Linked DNA regions of Homo sapiens: all the other regions are linked to region 3. Evidence: promoter capture Hi-C in human tissues and cell types (Jung and others, 2019). All regions are on one chromosome and are shown on one strand. Each heading gives the region's core, a stretch centred on a gene start or on the middle of the fragment in contact. The rest is flanking DNA. Distances are from core to core; before and after follow the strand shown. Region 1 holds the start of TBC1D10B (TBC1 domain family member 10B). Region 2 holds the start of DCTPP1 (dCTP pyrophosphatase 1). Region 3 holds the start of NFATC2IP (nuclear factor of activated T cells 2 interacting protein).

Region 1 (3,236 bases), core at 361-2,860, 1.4 Mb after region 3:
ATCAAAGAGCAGGGATGACCTCAGGTATCATCTCATTCAATCCACTTTATAGAGGAAAAAACTGAGGCACGGAAATGGGGAAGCCACTAGCTCAAGGGCACACAACCCATCAAAGGCAAGGCTTAAACCCAGACCTCTTGACCCCTGGTCTGAAACTCCACTAACATGCCAATGTCACAGGCACCTCAGGATGCTCAAGACACGGCAGCTCGCGCTGATCACCCCGTGGATCCTCAGAGGAGGCTGGGCTGCCAGAGTCTGGGCAAAGTGTATCGTTTTCGTTTCGCCCTCCCCCAACCTTTGCTTCCCCGAGGCGGTCCCGCTGGGTGCCCACTGGTACTCACAGGCTGCCCGAGTACTGGCTGCCCCCAAGGAAGCCATACTTGTCCGTCTTGCGCAGGGCCAGCCCGTTTATCTCTGAATCTGAGCCCATGGAGCTCACATCATCCGCCAAGGACTCCAAGGTCCCAGACATGAGGCTCACGGAGTCCAAGTAACTCAGCGTGTCCGGGGCCTGCCCTCGAGGCCCAGAGATGCCAGGTCCCAGGCTGGACGTGGAGCCCAGGTCTTGAGAGTTTTCAGCAGGCTCCGGAGCTGGGGTCACGGTCACGACAGCTACCGGAGCCTCACAAGTCCCAGAGGGGCCTGTGCCAGGGCCTGAGGGGTCCTCAGGAGCCTGTCCTGCTGATGCTGATGTTGCTGCGGCAGCTCCATGCCCACCTGTCACTTGTCCTGATGCACTCCGTGCAGTCACTCCTGAGGCCACTGTGGTTCCCGGCTTGGGGGCAAGCGGGGGTTTGGCGGTCAGGGCACCAGGAGCCGTTCTGGAAGGGGTCCTGGTAGGGGTCCCGGTGGGGGTCCCTGGTCCTGGGGCGGGTGAGGGTCGAGCCTCCTCTGTCTTCGGCGAGTCTGCCCCTGCGGCCAGAGCCCTCGATGTCTCAACTCCAGCCACTGCCGCGGGCTCTGGGGATTCCGGGCCGGAGGGGAGCTGCGGCTTTGGGGCTTCGGGCGAGGCCTCCAGGGTCAGCACCACCACCGTGCTGCCCGTGACAGCCGGGGCTGGGGCCGGGGCTGGGGCCGGGGCCGGAGCAGAGGTCTCGGCCGACCCCGGGACCCAGGCGGGCCGCGCCTCCCCGGGGGCCACCAGGGTGACGGGGGCCGAAGTGGCCGTAGTCACTGGAGGTCCCGGAGCCACCACCACGACGGGCCCGGCCCGGGAACCCCGGGGCGGCGGCGAGGGGGCCGCGGGGGCGCCATGACGGCGCGGCGGGGCCACCAGGGGCGCCGTGCCCGTCTCCATGGCCGCGGGCCGCCCCTCACATCCCCCCGCCGGGGAGGCCGCAGAAGGCGCCGCCCCTCGGGCCTCCCGGCGAGGCCAGCCGAGAAAGGGGAGAGGGCGAAGGGCGCGGCTCGGCGCGCGCCGGGGGCGGAGCGGCCGCTGGGCGCGCAGAGGCGGGGCAGGGGTCGGGGGGCGCCGCGCGCCGGGGTCTCTCTCGAGCCCTCTCACCCCCTCGCGCGCTCTCGCCACCGCCCCCTCCCTCCTGCTTGGGGGCGAGCCGCCGACCTCGCGCCTGCGCACACGCCGCAGAGCCGGCTCCGCGCCAGCGTCTCGGCGTTCCACGCCTGCGCGCGGACTGGCTCATCGCGCTCCTTTTTTCTCCCGCCTAGTCAGAGGATTTGGACGAATAGTGGGAGAGAGAGAACTGGGCTTCTGCCAATCGTTGGAATCGTGGGCGGGGCTGGAGGCGAAAAAGGGGTGGGTCATCTGGAAAGAGGAAACGGAGAAAGCTAGGGCTGTAAGACCAATCAGAGGACGAGGAAAGGCAGGGGGCGATGGGACGAAAGAAATAACCAATAGAAACGCAGGGGTCTGAACCTCCTGGCCAATGAATATGACTGAAGGGTGAATGACCGCGGAAGGGCGGAGGAGGAGGCAGGGCTGTGCGAGTAAGAGGTGGGGCCTGGAGGCTTCTTAACCAATAGGAATGGTAAAAAGGGAGCCAATGAAAAGGGGAGCAGGTGGAGGTCAAATTGACAGGCAGTGATGTCTATTTAGGCGGTGACAGACAGCATCCGCAGTCAATAGGAAGAGCTGAAGAATTCTTTAGGTCTCCCAAAATGGTCAGTAAGGAATGACAGCTGGGAGGAGGCGGGGCAAGCTAGAGATTAATTCGCCCCGTCAGCCAATGATCGTGTTCTCCCACTTTGGCCACAGGACAGGAAAATAGATAGCTGTCTCAGCCAATGGGAGCATCCAAAGGGCAAAGATGCTGCCAGCAGGCGGTGCCAGCCCAGGGATAGTCGGTGACAACCGGAGACAAGCCTTATGGGAGGGTGACAGCTGGGGACAGCACGGAGAAGGGGCGGGGGCATTAGTGCAGCCCTCAACCAATGAGTGCCGCGCTGCCCCCTCTCGAGTCCTTTCCGGTCCCCTATTCTTCGTTCAGCTCCTGAGCCCCACACTCTGGTGGTCTGTGGGACCCTGAGCCCCACCACAGATCCAGTGCCCTGACCCAGTACTCTCATCCTTTACTCTATAATTCTCCGATCTCGGCCCCCAACTAACCCCAACACTCCAGGCCCAGGTGGCAATAGCCAGAGCCCCCAGATCCTATAAGCAACCCATATCTCTGCTTCACCCATTTCCTGCGGGAATCCCAACCTCCAAGTCCCTCTCCTCAGTTCCCATCTATCTGAGCTCCTCCCCAGAACCCAGGCTCCAGTTCCTCAGACCTTATCCCTCTGAGTACCCCCTCCATTTCTTCTAGTGGGGATCTCAAACCCCAAATCCATGAATCCCTAATACCATGAACTCCCCATATGTGTGTTACTATTCTTTTGGGGATCCAAGGCCCCAGTCCCGTCAACCCCTCTCCCCTCACTGCCACATCCCTCTGTGCTCCTCATGTTCCACTGAGAATCCCGACCTCAATCTCATGAGCGCTCCAGGTTGTCCTTAGATCACAAGCATAAAGACCTGACGTTATGAGCTCCAACCTTCCAACTTCTAAACGCCCTCTTCTTTCTCTGACCCCCATATTCTGATTTCCATATAGCATCCACCATCCTGGAATTCCAGTGAGACCTAGCTCCCGACTTCTCAGCTCCTCCTTGGTTTCTGAGTCCTCTAAGGTCCCTCACTCCCAACTCAGCCCCATGTCCTGTCAATTCCCACTCAGTGTCTGATCTCCTTCTCCTCACCTTTCCCATCTCCCGTTTGACCCAAGCTTCCTGAG
Region 2 (3,224 bases), core at 468-2,967, 1.5 Mb after region 3:
CTGATTTTTCCTGAGATGCTTACAATGAAGGAGCGTCAGATTCTCCCTGAATTGAACTTGCCCTTTCTTGCCTCACTGCCCCTGCAAATGTAGTTCCCATGTCTGGAATGCCACAGGCAGGTCCTCTACAGAATACCTTCCTTTCAGCCCCAGAGGCAGAGGAAAAGGGTTGTTGGGCCAGGCGTGGTGGCTCACCCCTGTAATCCCAGCACTTTGGGAGGCCAAGGCGGGTGGATCACCTGAGGTCAGGAATTTGAGACTAGCCTGACCAATATGGTGAAACCCCGTCTCCACTAAAAATACAAAAATTAGCCAGGCGTGGTGGGGGGCACCTGTAGTCCCAGCTACTCGGGGGGCTGAGACAGAACTGCTTAAACCCAGGAGGCGGATGTTGCAGTGAGCCGAAATTGAGCCACTGCACTCCAGCCTGGGCGACAGAGCGAGACCCCGTCTCAAAAAAAAGCCAAAAAAACAAAAAACAAAAGAAGGGAAAAGGGTTGTTGCCACTGCTTCTTCCTAGACGGGACCTGTCCTGATGCTTTCACACCTCACACCTCTCTCTTCCAGGAGGCTGAGTGCCCCTAGAGGGCAGGGACCCGTGAGTCCTCTCTGCATCCCAACAACAGCAAAGAGCCTAGCAATCAGGAGGGGAAACTGAACCCATGAATGTTTGAAGACCAAATAAATGCTCCCCTCCCCTCCCCCACAACTCAGACTCTACCAGGAAGCTTTCCATCTACTCACAAGAGTTCTGCCAGCTCCCCCACTTCCCCAACCAAGGCCAGGAGGAGATTCCGAGGCTGATGGAACTGTTCCCAGTCTCGTTCCGCAGCAAACTCAGCATGGAGGCGGCGGCTGAAATAGGACAAAGGAGTGTAAGTCCAAGTCTCCGGGTTAGAGGGTGATGCAGGGGCCAGAGGCAGCTACCCCCGTAGTATGTAATGGGGCCTGGGACCAGGAGATTCTGCAACTAATTCATTGGATGGTATTGTGCAGGTCATTTCCTCTTTCCGGAACTTGGTTCCCTCATCTATAAAATGGGCGTGCCCCTGAACTGCCCTTAACATCTCGCCAAAACTAACAAAACCCTCTTCATTATTCCATCTCCTGCTGCTACTTCTGCAGTTTCCTCCACCTGGAATCGCCGCACATCAAAATGCAATTTCTCTTACAGAAGGTAGTTCCACAGACCCTTCCTCTAAGAAGCCTTTCTTGACCTCCTCCAGCAAAAAATAACGTCTCCCACCTCTCAGCACTTCGTTTGCCCCTCTCGTACCCCCGGCGCCTGGAGAGCAGAGGCGGTATCTGGTGCCGGTATCTTCCCAGGGCTAGGCTGAAGGGCGTTCCTAGTTACCACTCGGAGGCACCACCCAATTTCCCTTGCCTCAGGTGTGCACCGCTGCGCCCATTTTGCAGATGAGGTAAGAAGGCTCACCCAGGGACAGCCCACAGAGCCAGGACCCGAGCCCCGCTGCCAGCCCGCTTCCCGACCACGTGGAGGAACCCTCCCCAAAACGCGGGAGAAAGGGGCGACTTCCCCACCCCGAGCTGGGCCAGGCCTGCTTACATGTCCTCGAGCGTGGGCTCCGGGCTGAAGCTGAACCGGCCGGGAGCAGCAGTGTCCTCTCCCCCCGTGTCCCCACGAATCTCCCCACCGGCCACAGACATGCCGCCCACCGCTGCACCGCGACTTCACGGAAAACCCACGAGCCACGCTCGAAGCCCCGCCTCCAGAGCTCCGACCAATTACGGGAGTTCTCTATTGCCTCACGGGGCGGAGCCTGAGGAAAGAGACCAATGACTTTTGTGGAGTTTGCTACAGCCCTCCCCTTCCCTCACTGGACCAATCTGAGGGAGCTTCAAGCGCGCGTTTCTAGTCTTAGGCCCTGGAATTCTTCCGCTAGGCCCTGTGTCTAAAGGTAGAGGTACCAATTCGACCTGGGGAAGAGACGAAGGGCAGAGGGTGGGGGAAGCGCAGGCGCGTCACTTCGTTTATGGGCGCCAGAGGGCGCCAAAGCGAAACGGCAGCGGAAGAGGGCCCGTCAGGTGGAAAACCCTATAAATGAAAGGCCCTATGCATAGGTATTAAATCAGGGCTTAAGGACGTTGAGAAACCTCGAGGCCAACCCCCACACTATTTGGATGGGATTGAAGGGGAAGAGCGGAGTAAGATCAGACGGCAGTAGGACTTCAGCTCCCCGCCATCGCTGTGTCCTGTGGTTGAAACGATGGAGGTCGCCCCATCCCTGTCCTAAGGGAGGCAGTAGGCCCCAGCGCAACGTACATTGCCCTGAAACACGTGGCCCCTTATGGTCTGGCCTGTGCCGGCCTCTCCAGCCTCATGGGTCCCCAGCACGGCTCCTCCACCCCACACACGAGAACTCCAGGCTCCACTCACACCAGGGAATACGCGAGGTGGCGAGTCACAGGGTTGCTGCTTTCAAATCAGAACCACTGAGTTATTGGCCATGGGAGGAGCAGAGATCTTTATGAAACCCTAGAACAGGTGTAGTCTTGCAAAGAATGATTTATTATTGTACCCTTATTAGGGCTACTATCTCTGATTTCCACGTTTAAAGAGGCTTCCAGCTTGCTGGAAGTGAAAGCGTAAGAAAGCGCAGGAAGAGGCAGAGTCAGATTTTGGAAATTAAAATCCCAAGGCTGTGACAATTGCAATTCTAGGTATATGCCCTAGAGAAATTAATGAATATGTGCAGAGAGACACATGCAAGAAGTTCATTACAGTTTTGTTTCTAAGAGTGAAAAAAATTGAAAATAAAATGACTATCAACGGAAGAATGGCTACATGGAAGTATATTTATACAAATGATATTATCCAGCAGTTAAGATTGGATACATGCAACAGAAACAAGTTTAAACTGCTTTTAGCAAGAAAAAGAAATCTATTATTTTTATTTTTTAAATTTTTTATAGAGACAGGGTTTCACCATGTTGCCTAAGCTGGTCTTGAACCAGGATTGCTGGATTGGGCTCTAGCAATCCTCCTGCCTTGGCCTCCCGAAGTGCTGGGATTACAGGCACGAGCCACCCCCACCGGCCACAAGGAATTTATTGTAAGGATACAAGAGTGTCTCCAGAATACAGTGGGACCTCAGGAATGAACTGGAACTGGGGTGGCTGTTTTAAGCATTTTACATATTTAATCCTCATAGCAACTAATTTAATCCTCACAAAAACCCTATATGGTAGGTAATATTGTTGTC
Region 3 (3,102 bases), core at 111-2,610:
AGATCGAGCCATTGCACTCCAGCCTGGGCAATAAGAGCGAAACTCCATCTCAAAATAAATAAATAAATAAAATTAAATAAATGAATAAAATAAAATTTAAAAATAAATAAATACATAAGATTTTTTTTTGAGATGGAGTCTCACTCTGTTGCCCAGGCTGGAGTGCAGTGGTACAATCTTGGCTCAGTGCAACCTCTGCCTCCTGGGTTCCAGCGATTCTCCTGCCTCAGCCTCCCGAGTAGCTGAGATTATAGGCGCCTGCCACTACGCCTGTCTAATTTTTGTATTTTAGTAGAGACAGGGTTTTACCATGTTGGTCAGGCTGGTCTCGAACTCCTGACCTCAGGTGATCTGCCCACCTCGGCCTCCCAAAGTGCTGGATTATAGGCGTGAGCCACCACGCCCAGCCTTATTATTTCTATCTTTCTTTCTTTTTTTGAGAGAGAGTCTCGCTCTGTCGGCCAGGCTGGAGTGCAGCGGCAGGATCTGGCTCACTGTAACCTCTGCCTCCCGGGCTCAAGCAATTCTCCTGCCTCAGCCTCCTGAGTAGCTGGGATTACAGGCGCACGCCACCACGCCCGCCTAATTTTTGTATTTTTAGTAGAGACGGGGTTTCACCGTGTTGGCCAGGCTGGTCTTGAACTTCTGACCTCGTGATTCGCCTGCCTCGGCCTCCCAAAGTGCTGGGATTACAGGCGTGAGCCACCGCGCGCGGCCAGCCTTATTATTTCTTTAAAGCATTTTTGAGACAGGGTCTCGCCCTGTCACCCAGGCTGGGGTGCAGTGGTGCGATCTCCGCCTCCCGGGCTCCAGCGAAACTCCCACCTCAGCCTCCTGAGTAGTTGGGACCACAGAGGGGTGCCACCACGCCCGGGTAATTTTTGCATTCTTAGTAGAGACGCGGTTTCGCCACATTGGCCAGGCTGGTCTCAAACTCCTGAGCTCAACCAATCTGCCCGCCTCAGCCTTTCAAAGTGCCAGGATTACGGGCGTGAGGCACCGCGCCTGGTTAAATCCGCGGTTTCCACAGGGAATTCCAGGCCCGCCTTCCTTCTCCCGGAAACCTTACCGCTCGAGGACTACATTTCCCAGGATGCCCTGCGACTAACCAAGCCGGAAGACGGTTGTCTTGGTTGGGCGGGTCCGGGAGAGGCTCGTCTGTGGAGAGGTGGCCCAGCCAATGGGTGAGGCCGACTGAATCGAAAGCTACGGTGATTGTGCCGAGGTGATTGGAATCTTTGGCGCCTTGGTTTCAGAGGTGGGCGCATGATGAGCGGGTACAGAGACCAATGAAAAGGCGGGAAGGCGGATCCCGCGCGTGGGGCGCGAAGAGTTGCTGACGAGCAGGCTGTTTGTCCAATGCAAGGCGAAAGTCGCTGAAGGGGGCGGGGCGAGGCGAGAGGAGGCGGGCGTGTGTTGTGGAGGAAAGTGTGCCATGGCGGAGCCTGTGGGGAAGCGGGGCCGCTGGTCCGGAGGTAGCGGTGCCGGCCGAGGGGGTCGGGGCGGCTGGGGCGGTCGGGGCCGGCGTCCTCGGGCCCAGCGGTCTCCATCCCGGGGCACGCTGGACGTAGTGTCTGTGGACTTGGTCACCGACAGCGATGAGGAAATTCTGGAGGTCGCCACCGCTCGCGGTGCCGCGGACGAGGTTGAGGTGGAGCCCCCGGAGCCCCCGGGGCCGGTCGCGTCCCGGGATAACAGCAACAGTGACAGCGAAGGGGAGGACAGGCGGCCCGCAGGACCCCCGCGGGAGCCGGTCAGGCGGCGGCGGCGGCTGGTGCTGGATCCGGGGGAGGCGCCGCTGGTTCCGGTGTACTCGGGGAAGGTGCGCCCGGTCCCGGGGAGGGGACCGGCGGAAGGGCCAAGGGCTTGGCCTCCAGGGAGGGGCCGGCGTTCGGGGAGGGTAGGGCTATAGGGGTGTTGAGGCTGGCGTTCTGGGGCTGGTCCTCGGGCGTTAGGGTGTTGGAGGCAGGGAGAGGCAGGGCTCCGGGACTTTCTGCAGACTGGGGTGGTGAAGGAGGGTGGGATGCGTTGGAAGTTTAGGATTCCTAGGAGCTAGAGTCTTGGGGGCACAGGGAGGCTGAAGAGCTGGGATTCCTGAGATTTTGGAGAGGGACTGGGAGGACCTGGGGCCGTTGGATTTTGAGGTTGGGGTCCATGGCAAATGAAGCCAGGGAGCTGCAGTATTGGGGGTTGGGGTCCATGCGGGTTCAGAGAGGACTGGGCGGCTCCAGAGGCTGGGGTCCCCCGATGGTCGTGTGAGCAATGGGCTGAGAGTCCCTAAGAGTCAGGGGTAGAGGGGCGGCTAGTAACCTAGTTAAAAAGGGCAAGGAAGCATACATTTCAGAGTGTCTTAGGCAGATGGAGGAAAGGGTGAAGGGTACTTCCATTCTGAATCCTGGGGAAGCTGGACTTCTAGGTTGCCAGGAGAGGGCCAAGGTGTCCACGATCTTAGGGAGGATTTGGGAGCTGGGTGTCAGGGAAGAATTACCCCCAATTTTTTCTTTCGGTAGGGGAAGGACTTGGGCCTGACCCCTCTCCCTTCTTTGTCTTTGCAGGTTAAAAGCAGCCTTCGCCTTATCCCAGATGATCTATCCCTCCTGAAACTCTACCCTCCAGGGGATGAGGAAGGTAAGGGAGGGCCTCCAGGGAGAGGCACGCAGCCGCTGGCTTCTCTTAAGAGAATTCCTGGGGTTTATATTCCTGCAGTCAGTTGTCTCCTGAGGCTCAAGGGAAGAGCGTGGGAGAGGGGACTCCTGCATCCCAGCCACAGGAGCTGGATTGTTAACAAGCATAGAATGTATTAATGTATACATTTCTGGTGCCACCTGAAGAGATGCTGATTCTGTAGTCCTGGGCGGGGCAGGAGGCGGTAAGGTGTTGAGAATCTGTGACATCTTGTTACATCTGCAGCAAGTTCTTTGGGAACACTGGAGCCAGCAGGGTGTTCTCTGAATCTTATCAGGGATGCCCTGTCTTTGTCCTCCCCCACTGATGCATTTTTTGCAAACAACTCAAGGGCGGGGAATAGGAATCTAGTCTAATAAGGAAATAATCCAGTGGGCAAATGGAGACCTTGGACCAAGACTCTTGTACCATGAGGGA

Evidence for each region. Contacts are between HindIII fragments. The study calls those that stand out against the background at their distance.
Region 1: a contact is called between the fragment with the promoter of TBC1D10B here and the fragment with the promoter of NFATC2IP in region 3, in 1 of the 25 tissues and cell types used here (dorsolateral prefrontal cortex).
Region 2: the fragment with the promoter of DCTPP1 here is called in contact with the fragment with the promoter of NFATC2IP in region 3 in 1 of the 25 tissues and cell types used here (pancreas).

Annotation. Positions count from the first base shown.
Region 1 is chr16:30,368,884-30,372,119 of GRCh38, forward strand. TBC1D10B (TBC1 domain family member 10B) reads right to left here and starts at 1,611. Exons shown (of 9, transcript NM_015527.4): 1 at 345-1,611. The coding sequence starts at 1,300. It also overlaps a transcript of MYL11 not described here. RefSeq lists silencers at 1,037-1,116, 1,207-1,496. The HindIII fragment of the contact is 6,682 bases long and covers 1-3,236 here.
Region 2 is chr16:30,428,313-30,431,536 of GRCh38, forward strand. It overlaps DCTPP1 (dCTP pyrophosphatase 1), which reads right to left and starts at 1,718. Exons shown (of 3, transcript NM_024096.2): 1 at 1,568-1,718; 2 at 745-855. The coding sequence starts at 1,668. RefSeq lists enhancers at 1-321, 322-822, 1,576-1,655, 2,056-2,165. The HindIII fragment of the contact is 14,232 bases long and covers 1-3,224 here.
Region 3 is chr16:28,949,577-28,952,678 of GRCh38, forward strand. It overlaps NFATC2IP (nuclear factor of activated T cells 2 interacting protein), which reads left to right and starts at 1,361. Exons shown (of 8, transcript NM_032815.4): 1 at 1,361-1,822; 2 at 2,556-2,628. The coding sequence starts at 1,436. RefSeq lists enhancers at 683-1,217, 1,237-1,737 and silencers at 1,457-1,556, 1,697-1,816. The HindIII fragment of the contact is 8,980 bases long and covers 1-3,102 here.